Linked DNA regions of Homo sapiens: regions 2, 3, 4 and 5 are each linked to region 1. Evidence: promoter capture Hi-C in 16 types of primary human blood cells and fetal thymus (Javierre and others, 2016). All regions are on one chromosome and are shown on one strand. Each heading gives the region's core, a stretch centred on a gene start or on the middle of the fragment in contact. The rest is flanking DNA. Distances are from core to core; before and after follow the strand shown.

Region 1 (2,560 bases), core at 32-2,531:
GGAAAACGTTTGGCCCTTTCAGCAAATGTTCTTGGAAGAAGAATGGGATGAATTGCTTCCTCCTTTTGGCTATTGTGAATCATGTTGCTATGAACATGGGTGCACAAATACCTGTTCAAGTCCCTGCTTTTCTTCCCTGCTTTTAAACTTGCTTGGAAGGTTTATTGTAACTTAGAATTGCAGACTGAGAAAGGCCTTGGAGGGGTTGTCTATCTAGTCTCTCCTCCTAAAATGCAAGTTCTGAGCCCCAGATCAGAACTCTATATTTAACCACACACATAAGAAGTTTATAGTAAAAAGAAAAGATTGGAATGAGTTATGGGCTTGTAGGTGAACCAATATGTTTCAGAAGGATTATTAAGTGGTATTTTAAATTTTTAAATTTAAGTTTAAGATTAAAATTTAAATTTAAAACTGATTTAAATTAAATTAATTTTTAAAAAGATTTGTTTGAACACCTTATATAATAAAGCATCAATAAATCATGATCATATAATAATTATATAGCCTCAATCACAGAAGGAAAAACTAAATTAAATCTTTTAAATTGGCAATAATTATAATAACTTACAAACTCAATGCTGATAAGAGTGTGATGAGATGTTTCTGCAGAAAGAAATTGTTATAATTTTTTTGAAAAATTTGAGAAATACAATAAAAAGAATAGCTGATACTTTTCTCTAGCATTTCAATAGCTAGAATTCTAAGTTGCAATAATTTATATTGAAAGACAAACAGCAAATTTTACTTAAAAGGGAAAAAAATTGAAATTTTAAAATATAAATATCCAAAAATGTGGGAAAGGGAAAGGTTAAAATGAGTCTGATGTGTTTATAGAAATGACAATACACATTGCAATAATAATTATTATTATAAGAGCTAATATTTATTGAGACAGTATTTTATATTCATAGAATTGTATATTCTTAGAATGGGCTATTTTTCAGAATTTACAAATATATTAATCAATAAAGTTTTAGATCATCTGAGAAACAAGGAGAATAGAAAAAAAGCATTAAAAACTTTAGAGATATGAAATATTTTGTGATATAATATTATAGTACTAGGACTCTCTGGTTGACAGTGAGAAAAATTCCAAACAAATTACCTTAAATGCAAGAGGCACTATGTTGACTCACAGAAGTTGGAAGTCCAAGAGGTAGAGCAGGAGAAAGAAATCAAATTCTTGACTAGACTCTTGTTTTTACTCTCTCCCACTCTACTCTCCTTTGTACACTAACTTTATTCTCATGTAGGGGCCTCTCCATGTAATGACAGAGTCAATCACTGCCCCCTTTGTAGCCTTATATTTAGGATCACAGTAGGAAGTGCCATTCTCTGCCACCTTCACTCAACATGGAAAATAACTTTTCTGATTGGCTGTGCTTCTGTCACATGAATAAATCCAGGGATGTGGGGCACTCTGATTGGCTACCTGAAACACATGTCCTCTTTGAGAAGTAAAGGCAAAACTACACAATTAAAACCCAACAGAATTCCAATTGTCGATAGAAGGGCTGTTCCCTATTACACAAAAAAGGAATGGAGACCAAATCCGAAAGTAATAAACGTGCTTTGCTGTTTAGCTGGGGGAAAATCAAAACACTCCATCTACAGCATGTTCCCAATTAACAGAAATATAGATTACAAGGGAAAGAAAAGAAAAAATGTAATAATAATAAGTTGTTATTTCTGAATGATATATTTCTGGTTAATTTTTTATTCTAATCTTTAAAATTGTCAATTTTACAAATTCAAAAAAATAACAAAATATCATTGAAGAAGTCAAGTTTTAAGATCTGGATTGGCCATGTTCTTAAATATTAAGTGATAATTTTCCAGACTCCCACATGTTTATATCAGTAAACTCATTTTTCATCAGCATCAGGAAAATCTGTGCCTTAGTTTGAGTGGTTGAGAAAAGACAGATTATAAATCTTCAATCCTCAGAATTAGACTAACCTTTGTGAATAAATCCCAGGGTATCTCTTAGTTAAATCCAGTAGAAAAATATAGGTTTTAACCAGCTTTAAATTAAATTTTCACAAACATTTTGAGGCAATATTTATGTCTCAAACCTTTACACCCATGATTGAACTGAGAATGGTATCAGGATGGGAAAATCTGGAGGAAAAATGTTATCCTTGTGAGTAAATAAGAGAATCAACAAGTTCACTGGTATATCACACCTTTGGCCCAATTCAAGACGTTTCCTCCCTTAGGGCCACTGTAAAAACTTGAGTGTCAGAGCTTAAAGCAGCACACAGACTAGACATACAGAAAACAAGTGTTTCTAAATAATTGAAAATCAACCTTCGGAGCATAAATAGAGTAATTTTCATATCTGATTTTACAAAAATGAAGTCAAACCAGGTCTGGGTTCACAGAAATCTCTTCAGAACTGACCGCACGTTTTTGCAAATTTATTTTACTCATATCTTATTTAGCTTTTTAAATGTACAATTCTGCAAAATTTTAAAAGGACTTAGGTAGATATTTACTATTTTTCATGTAATGCTAGTGTGAGTCTAGAAGGTATAGACTGAGATGTGGCCTCTGG
Region 2 (2,560 bases), core at 26-2,525, 200 kb before region 1:
TGGCCTATCTGTGCAGAACAACAGAGTACAATAATATTGGCTTTTCCTTAGGATGCTTCTATGGCATGGTTCCAGGATGAGTAACTGGGTGGGAATCTTGAGCCATGGGCTTCGAATTGCCCCACCTGAAGCTCCCATCACAGGTTACATGGTGAGTGAAATTGAACTCTGGGAGGAGCACAGGGGAAAGGGATACAGTAATGTTCTCAGTGCTTTTTTTCCTAGATTAGGATTAGATGGTTCCCCTCCCCAAGAGTTAAGCCAGCTCACTGATAACCTTGTCATCTCTTACTGTGTCCCTCTTTCTTTAAATTCCTAAAGATACCTCACCTTTCCCTCAGAAGGCGGAAATTCACAGGGGCTTCTACCCTCTCTAGAACAGAATTGTGAGGGGAAATGGAGAAGGGTCTATATTGTGTTTAAGGGAATGGAAAAACAGGGTCAGTGGTATGCACCTTCTCTCTAACACAGTGGGTTAGAAGCTGACCTTGGTATTCATGTATATATTTCAGTTTGGGAAAGGAATCTACTTTGCTGACATGTCTTCCAAGAGTGCCAATTACTGCTTTGCCTCTCGCCTAAAGAATACAGGACTGCTGCTCTTATCAGAGGTGAGACAGGAGTATGTCTGTGATCTCTAGTTTATTAATTCCAGTTTTTTTCCGATGAGAAAAGTTTGACCCCAGAACCAAGAGGTTTACCTGGGATAGCTTGAGAGAGGACCAAGTACAATTTCTAGTACATTGGATTCCTCTGCTGGAGTAGGGGAAAAAAGTACTGATGGGATTTTCTGTTTGGCTTTGGAGCCATCTAATTCTTAGTAGGATATGGGAATTCAAAGGTTTTTTGCTTTGCAGGTAGCTCTAGGTCAGTGTAATGAACTACTAGAGGCCAATCCTAAGGCCGAAGGATTGCTTCAAGGTAAACATAGCACCAAGGGGCTGGGCAAGATGGCTCCCAGTTCTGCCCACTTCGTCACCCTGTAAGTACTCAGAACCAGGAGGACTAGAAGACTCCTTTTGGCCAGATAAGACTACGTTCTCTATTGCAGCTTCTGAACCAGAGACTGATGTTGACACACTTTTTTTCCATTTGGCAGGAATGGGAGTACAGTGCCATTAGGACCAGCAAGTGACACAGGAATTCTGAATCCAGATGGTTATACCCTCAACTACAATGAATATATTGTATATAACCCCAACCAGGTCCGTATGCGGTACCTTTTAAAGGTTCAGTTTAATTTCCTTCAGCTGTGGTGAATGTTGATATTAAATAAACCAGAGATCTGATCTTCAAGCAAGAAAATAAGCAGTGTTGTACTTGTGAATTTTGTGATATTTTATGTAATAAAAACTGTACAGGTCTACCACTGGCTTCTTCGGGCTTTATTTCTCCAAGAACATATTTCTTCTGACATTAGTAGATCTCCATTTCCAGGACAGAAATTACTCATTGCTCTGAGGGTTATTCAGTATCCTGTTCTTAGTGGCATCTGTGCATTGAGGGACACTAATGGGGGCGCTAATGCTTTTACCTGTTTAATTCAATTTTTCTGCAAACTGGAATTTGTTGAGTATTATCACAGGAAGGGTAGAGGCAACAAAGGCTAAGTCGTGTTTTTCTTTCCCATGCATATGTATTCACTTGCCTTTTTCAAATTTATCCACTGCAGCCTAGGTCTCCCACTACTCAACATCCTAGGACTCATCACATGTCCAAAAATTTGGGAAGCCCTTGGAGGACTGTCACTAAGCCTGAATACATCTTGAGGAGGAAAGGAAAAAAGTGGAATGAGTTTTTACATAACCTGCTCCAACTAAGAAGTACTAAAGTCCAGGTCAGATCCTGATATGGTTAGGCTTTGTGTCCCCATCCAAATCTCATCTTGAACTGTAATCCCCAGAATCCCCACATTTTAAGGGAGAGACCAGGTGGAGGTAACTGAATCATGGGGGCAGTTTCCCCCATGCTGTTCTTGTGATAGTGAGTGAGTTCTCACGAGATCTGATGGTTTTATAAGGGGCTCTTCCTACTTCGCTTGGCACTTCTCCTTCCTGCCACCCTGTGAAGAAGGGCTTCCCCTTCACCTTCCTCTATGATTGTAAATTTCCTGAGGCCTCCTCAGCCATGGTGAACTGTGAGTCAAACCTCTTTCCTTTATAAATTACCCAGTCTCGGGCAGTTCCTTATAGCAGTATGAAAACAGACTAATACAGATCCAAAGACTTCCTGATTGTATTTAAACACACAACACAGATAAACAACACACTTCCTTAAGTAACAGAGAAGTTTGTTTAAATTTTTCCTGTAACTTTTTAGAAACCAGGTTTCCAATATCTATCAAAATTTGAAATGTTCATGCCCTGTTGACCTAAAACTTACAGATATATATGTTTGCATAGATGTCACTGAGGCATTGGTGTACACAAAAAGATCATAGATAAGGAACTAGTCAAATATATCTACTCACTGAAGTAACCTGCTATTAAAACTGAAGTAGACTGCATACTTTTCCAAAGAATAGAAGAGAGGAAAATACTTTGCAACTAATTCTACAAAG
Region 3 (2,560 bases), core at 17-2,516, 180 kb before region 1:
CATTTTCAACTCGAAATGGAAATTTGAATCTTTTTTCCCTGACACCCACACCCCTGCCCCAACCCTGAGCAGGGCCCCCATAAGCACACCCAGGAGTCCCATATCTCAGAGAAGAACCCAGCCAGTGACTCATCTCACCATAGAGGGCATGGGCCTCCAAGAGCCGAGAGACCAGACCCAATTCCAAGTGTGCAGCCACCACATGGAGGTTGGTAAGGAACTTCGAAAGAAGTCCACGGTTCCCGCTCTGGAGCTGAGAAGGTCAGATTGAATTCATTAGGGATATGAAGGGGCTGGTGAGAAGGGACAGTTTAGTCTCAGAACCTGGATACAGAGATAGGATCTGAGCTGGGACAAAGGACTTGAAGAAGAAGGGCAGGAAAACTGAAAGGAAAGAGGTCAAGGGAGTTTGGGAGGGGTAATGGCGGCGGTGATGGTGGAGATGGTAACGGGGAGAGGGGTCTCAGAGCAACCAAAGCACTCACTTTGGGAAAGGTGTCTATGGGGTCTAGGAACTAACCAGGTGGTAAGGCAGGTCTCCCAGAGCCTCAGGAGGGCAACTTCGGAAGGTGCCTGAGGCATCAGCGTCACATGTCTTCCAGAGCTGAGCTGCATGAACAGATATTGAGAAAGGCTCAGCCCTGCATCATTCCCAAGGGCAGTAGGTGAGCTGGCCAGCAGATGGGAGCACAGTGGGTGGTCCTGGCCTCCAGGCCCAAGCCCCACACTCAGTGCCCAGGCTGACTTGGGCTGCAATCACCTGCAATGAGGATGTGTGCCGTGTCCTCTAGCCCTGGCCTCTTCCCATAGCAACGTTTAGCTGCTGTTCTCAGGGGCCCATCAGGGAGGCACAGCCGGGCACCAGGGCGCTCCAGAGGGCCCTCCCCTAGCAAACTGTCCTCGTGTGAGGAAGGGAGAGAGAAGAAGGAAGAGGCCTGTCAGTGAGCTTCCTGGCACACAGTGGGCTCCTATTCCCCCCTCAAATAGCGGAAACTGGAGCAGCTGGAGCAGTAGCTCATTCATGGTCTGGGAGCCAGTTGTTGAAGCTATACAGAGGGCCCCGGCTCAAAGAAGGGAAGGCACAGAGAGGTCAGCGGGAGCTCTGCTGGGGCACCTGTACCTGCGCAGACTCTGGACGAGGCAGGCAAACGGGCCCATGGGGTAGGGGTCTCCACTGTTACCAGCAGCCACTGCTTCTTCCCAGCTCTTAGTCCCCTTCGGTAGTGTCCGCCACACACTCAGCACTCCGTGCAGCTGGTCCACAGTCAAACCTGAAAACTCAAGCTCTCTGAGGCCCTCATCTAACCATACGGTGTCCCCGCCCCCACCACACCCAGTCTCTCCTTGAACTGCCTGCTGAGACCCCAAGGGAACCAATGTAATCCGAACCCTGGCCCTCAGCCTCCCAACCAACCCACCCCAAGCACTGACCACTCCGTGTGACTTCTAGGGCAGTCAAGGCCTGGGGAAGGACATCAGGCCCGTGCTCCTTCTCCAGTGTGCTCAGGATGTGCTGCAGCAGCAGGGGGACAGTGGCAGGCAGGGTCCGGAGTCTCTCAGACACCTAGGATGGCGGGAGGACAGCCTTGTTCAGTGCAGTGGGAGGAGAAGCAGCTTGGCTTGTGGGATAGGGAAGGGGCAGCAGGAGGACAGTGTGGAGGAATGAAAAAGTAAAGAACAACAGTAGGAGGGAAGTGAGGCGAGGTATGAGGCGAGGATAGGGAGTGGGTGATCACAAGACAGCAAAGGACGTGGGATAGGGATGAGACAAAGCAGCTGAAGAGAGAATGGGAAGTAGTGATTAGGACTTGGAAGGTGATGAGAACTGACCTGCTCATACAGCGTGAAGAGCCTCAGGTGATCGGTGACCAAGCGCAGGTAGAGCGGCCGGCCTGATTCCCGCTTCACCAGCAGCAGTCGCATCTGGCAAGACTCAGGACTCAGGGTGGGGTCCAGGAGGGCTGCCCGCAGCCAGCCCTCTGCCCCAGCACCAGCCCCTCTGCCAGGCAGCTCCTCCTCTGAGAGTCCCCAGCAGACGCCAGGTCCATGGCATCATCCCAGGACACAAACCATCCCTCTCCTACGCTGCTCTGCCCAGCCAGCCCTGCCAGAAAACCCCTGTGGCTCGGCCTACCCCACCAAAAACCACTTGACTCATCCCCTCACCCCGAGAGGCCCTGGAAAGGCCATTCACCGGGGGAAGAGGGCTGGGTGACATGATCAGGAATCACAATTTTCTTATTAACAACTTCCCATGGACAGAATTTCTGAGAAAACAAAGGAGCAGGTCTGTGCAAGGCAGCTAGCGGCCTCGGCACCCCAGGTCCTCATAGCTCCCAGATTCACCCCACACACCCACCGGCCCCGGCCTAGAACCCAACCTGGTTGTTAAATGGTGACTCCTCCAGCCGCTTCCCGTACAGGGCCAGCTCCTCTCTCACCAGCCGGGCCCGAGCAGAGGCCTCCAGAGGCCCCAAGGCCAGCACGTGGGCACCCTGGCTCTGCTCAAGGGTCTCCCCTAGGCCTGCATCACTAGACACACTCAGCACCAGGTGTACAC
Region 4 (2,560 bases), core at 36-2,535, 160 kb before region 1:
AGCAAGAAGTTCAGAAACCAGGCATGTGGAAAGTCCAAGATAGAGGAAGTGAGGAATTCACATACAATCTACCCTACTCAAAATGTTTTAAAGGCTTGGAAAGATTAAAAACAGGGTTGGCCCAAAGTTTGGAACAAAATTTATGCAACACTGTTTATGGGATGGCTGTTATGTTACCACTTAATCTGTTGGCTCTAGCCCTAAGATTGGGTTCAACTGGCAAAATGTATTATCTAGTCTAGAGCAAAGGTTTCTAAACTTTTTAGATGGCCAAAAGAGAAATTTCGTAGTGTAAGTTGATTTATGAAGTATATACTAACATAATGTAGCACATTCATTAGTTAATATTTCAAGGCACAATATCCATTTAAAAGAAGGTTCACCATTTATGAAACCCCGTCTCTACAAAAATACAAAAATTAGCCAGGCGTGGTGTCTGGTGCCTCTAATCCCAGCCACTCGAAAGGCTGAGTCAGGAGAATCGCTTGAAACCAAAATGCGAAGGTTGCAGTGAACCGAGATCACGCCACTGCACTGCAGCCTGGGTGACAAAGCAAGACTCTGTCTCCAAAAAAAAAATTAAAAAAAAGTTCACCATTTATAATGACGAATGTATGTAAATCCATATTTGAAATAGTCTTCATAATTTGTAAGCTTCTCACCCAATTTCTTCTATTTGATTAGTCATTACTTTTTTTGCTTAAATATAGGTGAAAAAGATTTGCACTGGAGATAGAATTTCACCACTGACCTCTGTCACTTCCTTATTGTTCCCTTGTACCTGTGTTATTAATATTATCTTCAAGCCATAGTTTCTTTTCTTTTTTTTTTGAGACGGAGTCTCACTCTGTCACCCAGGCTAGAGTGTGGTGGTGCAATCTCAGCTCACTGCAACCTCTGATTCCTGGATTCAAGCAATTCTCCTGCCTCAGCCTCCGAGTAGCTGGGATTACAAGTGCTCACCACCATGCCTGGCTAATTTTTGTATTTTTAGTAGAGACGGGGTTTCACCATGTTGGCCAGGCTGGTCTCAAACTCCCGATCTACAGTGATCTGCCTGCCTCGGCCTCCCAAATTGCTGGGATTACAGGCGTGAGCCACCATGCCCAGCCCATAGTTTCTTAATAATAATATTTTTAAGGTTTATATCAATTTTAGGCCGGGTGCAGTGGCTCACGCCTGTAATCCCAGCACTTTGGAAGGCCGACTCAGGCGGATCATGAGGTCAGGAGATCAAGACCATCCTCGCTAACACGGTGAAACCCCATCTCTACTAAAAATACAAAAATTAGCCGGGCGTGGTGGTGGTCGCCTGTAATCTCAGCTAATCAGGAGGCTGAAGCAGGAGAATCACTTGAACCTGGGAGGCGGAGGTTGAAGTGAGCCGAGGTCGCGCCATTGCACTCCAGCCTGGGCATCAAAGTGAGACTCCGCCCAAAAAAAAAAAAAAAAGGTTTATATCAATTTTAGACAGTTAATTTGGTTAATACTGAATAATATAATTCCAAATCCATCTACAATTGAAAGATAAATTGCTATAAGTCAAATTATATAGAAACCAAAATTAAAAAAAAAAAAGAGTGAAGGGGTGACATTAATGCCCTCAGATTGTGGATGCTCAGAAAACCTCAACTATTACACGTAACACATAACACTGTATCATATGGATTCAGTGACTATGTGGGTTCAATCTGCATGGTAAGTACTGGGAAAATTCTTTTCTTTTAGATAAAAGTAAACATAAATAGGAGGTGTGATTTTCTTTTCCTGGACAGAGGTGCATTCAAACCACTTTAGAGGCCAGGCCGGTCAGTCCGTCACCATGCCTTGTGCACCAGCCCACACCATCAGCAGCTTCATCAGGTAAATGCTGCTCCCTTTGTAAAGGGGATGTAAGTCTTATTTGAATTATAGCTGGAAGCTTTCAGCCCTCTGGAAGTCTTGGGATTCTCCAGTCATCATTCTTTTTTTTTTTATTTTTGAGATGGAGTCTGTCTCTGTCACTCAGTGGCACAATCTTGGCTCGCTGCAACCTCCACTTTCCAGGCTCAAGCAATCCTCCTGCCTCAACCTCCCAAGCAGCTGGGACCACAGACATCAACCACCATGCCCAGCTAATTTTTCTATTTTTGGTTAGAGACGGGGTTTCACCATGTTGCTCAGGCTGGTCTCAAACTCCTGAGCTCAAGTGATTTGCCCGCCCCAGCCTCCCAAAGTGCTGGGATTACAGGCGTGAGCCATGGTGCCTGGCCTCCAGTCATAATTCTGATTCACAAACTGTATGGAACAATTAGGTTGTATATGTACTATAAATGAACTATTGCATCCATTGTCGACTCAAGTTTTTTCCACTGTTACTATGTATAAAAGGTTTTCTAGATCATTTTCGGTAAGAAATTAAGTCCAATATCATACTGGTGATATTAGAAAATAAACTGGACATTTATCCTTAAGATTGCAAAATTCACTAATTTCATTCCAAAAAAATGTTAATGAGTTATTAATGAGATCTGTGGTCTTCAAAAAGGGTTCTGTATATCCAATTACATTTTATCTTATA
Region 5 (2,560 bases), core at 46-2,545, 130 kb before region 1:
ATAGAGTTCACTTCCTGCCAGGCTTGCAGCCCCATGCCGGAAGCGTCCGGGGGCAGGCAGGGCAGGCAGCTGCCCCCACTCAACAGTTCGTACCAGTCCCACGCCACAGCGGAAGGCCCGGGCCCACCACACTGCTCGGGATGGTTGTCTTAGGGCCATGTCTGGTCTGAGCCCATCCCCGCCAATCACTACCAGTGCCCGGTCAGGCTCCCTCCGTCTCTCTTGGCCTGGAACATCAGCCTCTACCATCAGCTGGTGCAACAGATCTGGGGTCAGGGGTGGAAGTAGCCCGGCTGCCCGCACCCTCCGCAACTCCCTGGTGGACATGCGGCCAAAGCGGACACATCGCAGCAGGGCCTTGGCCTCTGACTCCTGGGTCTCGGGGTTGGCAGCCAGCCAACACCGTGCAGCCACAAAGGCCTCAAACTCCTCCTGCACATGGAGCTCATCACTATCCAGGAGCTCAGCCAAGCAGGCAGCTGGTAAAGAAGGGAAAGCAGGACACAAGGCTACAGCAGGCAGGTGGGTGAGGAGGTAGTGACGGGCTTTGCTCCAGAGCCTCTCCAACCCAGGGGCTTCCGCCATGGGGAACAGGGCCAGGCAACGGGCAGGGCTGAGGCCCCGTGCCAAGCCTTTCTGACACAAATCCAAGCAGGAAGAGCTCTGGTACTGCAGAGCAGCCTGGGCAGCTCTCAGTAGCCCTGGCCACCTTGCCCGCACAACTCCGGAGTAAGCAAAAGAGACGAGGAGTCGCAGGTCCTGGGTGGAGATCGTCCGCAGAGATACCTCTGTGCCCTGGGATTCCCTCATCCCGCTCAGGAGCATGGCCCCAAAGAACTCACTGCCACAGGCCAGGGCGGCTCGGTGCACTGCAGGAGGGGAGAAGGAATAGAGGAGGACTCAAAGTATTGCAAGACCGATAGGCATTACCCCAACTTGGTACTCTAAGTTTGGCCAAACTCTAAGTTTGGCCCTCCAAGCCACCCACTGCTACAGACCAAACTGTGGTGTGCATCAGAATACCATGGGGTAGTTGTTAAAATGCAGGTTTCAGCAGTCCACTCCCAGAGATTCTGATTCAGCAGTTCTGGACGGAGACCCTAGAAATTTGTATTGTAACACTTCAAGTAACCCTATGTGATTCTCATGTTAGTGGCCTGAAGACACTTAGATAAACATTGCTTTAGTCTTTTTGGTCAGATGAGTCAGAAAAAGAGTCTTCATGGATCAGGTTGAGAGGAAAGCATTTGCTAAGAGGAGCACAAAATAAATGGGAAATGACCAACAAGCAACTTATATAGGTCTGTCTATATCGTGACAAAATAAAATTCTTTACAATCAAGAGCCAAGACTGTCAGCCATTCTGTTAGATTTTGCTGGGAAAGTGGCACCACTCGGGAATGGCTGTAATCCAACCTCATCGGATTGCTGTCTCCTCTTGCCTAAGATTTAGTGTTTAATGTTTTCCGTGCGTCCCAGCTTTTCTCTGCATAACCCTCTCCTGTTCTTGGTGTAATTTGTAGAATCATGAGATCTGAAACTTGAGAACTTCAAAATAATCTAATTCAATTATTCCCTTTAAAATAAGGAAACTGGTTGGGTGTCGTGGCACACACCTGTAATCCCAGCACTTTGGGAGGCTGAGGTGGGTAGGATCACTTGAGGTCAGGAGTTCAAGGCCAGCCTGGCCAACATGGTGAAACTCCATCTCTACCAAAAATACAAACATTAGCCGGGCATGGTGGCAGGCGCCTGTAATCCCAGCTACTTGGAGACTGAGGCAGGAGAATAGCTTGAACCTGGGAGGCGAGGGTTGCAATGAGCTGAGACTGCGCCGCTGCACCCAGCCTGGGTGACAGAGCGAGACTCCATCTCAAAATAAATAAATAAATAAAATGTGGAAACTGAGTTGGGTCCCAAAGAAAGCATGTGATTTATTTTTCATTTCCATGCAGTGGCTGTGTGGGCAGATCATCTCCATCCACTGCCACTGATGTCAGGCTGCAATAAGCATGCTTGTGTACCAATACCTTGGTTATCTGCATGGTCCTCATGACAATGAAACTGTCCTATTAACCTACGCTGTTAAACAATTAGACCTCATACTCAGCATCACTTATGGATTATTCTGGCCAAAATATTTAACTTGAATCTGTTCAACTCTTTAGATCTAAAGTCAAGTTTATAGGAAGTTGAAAGGCTAAAGGAACAATTTAGAGGGGAAAAACCACACAAATCAAGAAAATGGAGCATTTTATAGGATAACCAATTTTTTTTTTTTTGAGATAGGGTCTTACTCTGTCACCCTGCCTGGAGTGCAGTGGTACAATCTCGGCTCACTGCAACCTCCACCCTCCAGCTTCATGTGATTCTCGTGCCTCAGCTTCCAGATTAGCTGGGACTACAGGTGCACGCTACCATGCCTGGCTAATTTTTGTATTTTTAGTAGAGACGGTTTCGCCATGTTGGACAGGCTAACCTTGAACTCCTGGCCTCAAGTGATCTGCCTGCCTCGGCCTCCCAAAGTGTTGGGATTACAGGCGTGAGCCACTATGCCTGG

The links. Contacts are between HindIII fragments. The CHiCAGO score rates a contact against its expected background, and 5 or more counts as called.
Region 2: a contact is called between a fragment that was not itself captured here and the fragment with the promoter of RNASE9 in region 1, in 7 of 17 cell types (total CD4 T cells, naive CD4 T cells, naive B cells and 4 more). The highest score is 7.3, in total CD4 T cells.
Region 3: a fragment that was not itself captured here is called in contact with the fragment with the promoter of RNASE9 in region 1 in 5 of 17 cell types (naive B cells, naive CD8 T cells, total CD4 T cells and 2 more); the score reaches 8.8 in naive B cells.
Region 4: a fragment that was not itself captured here is called in contact with the fragment with the promoter of RNASE9 in region 1 in 9 of 17 cell types (naive B cells, naive CD4 T cells, activated CD4 T cells and 6 more); the score reaches 10.0 in naive B cells.
Region 5: a contact is called between a fragment that was not itself captured here and the fragment with the promoter of RNASE9 in region 1, in 1 of 17 cell types (total CD4 T cells). The highest score is 6.1, in total CD4 T cells.

What each region holds. Positions count from the first base shown.
Region 1 is chr14:20,559,766-20,562,325 of GRCh38, forward strand. RNASE9 (ribonuclease A family member 9 (inactive)) reads right to left here and starts at 1,282. Exons shown (of 3, transcript NM_001110356.2): 1 at 1,109-1,282. RefSeq lists an enhancer at 1-302. The HindIII fragment of the contact is 11,449 bases long and covers 1-2,560 here.
Region 2 is chr14:20,356,539-20,359,098 of GRCh38, forward strand. PARP2 (poly(ADP-ribose) polymerase 2) reads left to right here. Exons shown (of 16, transcript NM_001042618.2): 13 at 52-151; 14 at 513-611; 15 at 858-982; 16 at 1,100-1,366. The coding sequence ends at 1,259. Among named protein-coding and RNA genes, the nearest start is that of PARP2, 14 kb to the left of the region's middle. The HindIII fragment of the contact is 3,285 bases long and covers 1-2,560 here.
Region 3 is chr14:20,380,793-20,383,352 of GRCh38, forward strand. TEP1 (telomerase associated protein 1) reads right to left here. Exons shown (of 55, transcript NM_007110.5): 27 at 2,382-2,560; 28 at 1,831-1,923; 29 at 1,432-1,564; 30 at 1,121-1,271; 31 at 761-894; 32 at 521-609; 33 at 139-253. Among named protein-coding and RNA genes, the nearest start is that of TEP1, 31 kb to the right of the region's middle. The HindIII fragment of the contact is 2,872 bases long and covers 1-2,560 here.
Region 4 is chr14:20,396,941-20,399,500 of GRCh38, forward strand. All of the region lies in intron 9 of TEP1 (telomerase associated protein 1), which reads right to left. Among named protein-coding and RNA genes, the nearest start is that of TEP1, 15 kb to the right of the region's middle. The HindIII fragment of the contact is 1,267 bases long and covers 653-1,919 here.
Region 5 is chr14:20,429,851-20,432,410 of GRCh38, forward strand. KLHL33 (kelch like family member 33) reads right to left here. Exons shown (of 5, transcript NM_001365790.2): 3 at 1-869. Among named protein-coding and RNA genes, the nearest start is that of KLHL33, 5.0 kb to the right of the region's middle. The HindIII fragment of the contact is 2,721 bases long and covers 1-2,560 here.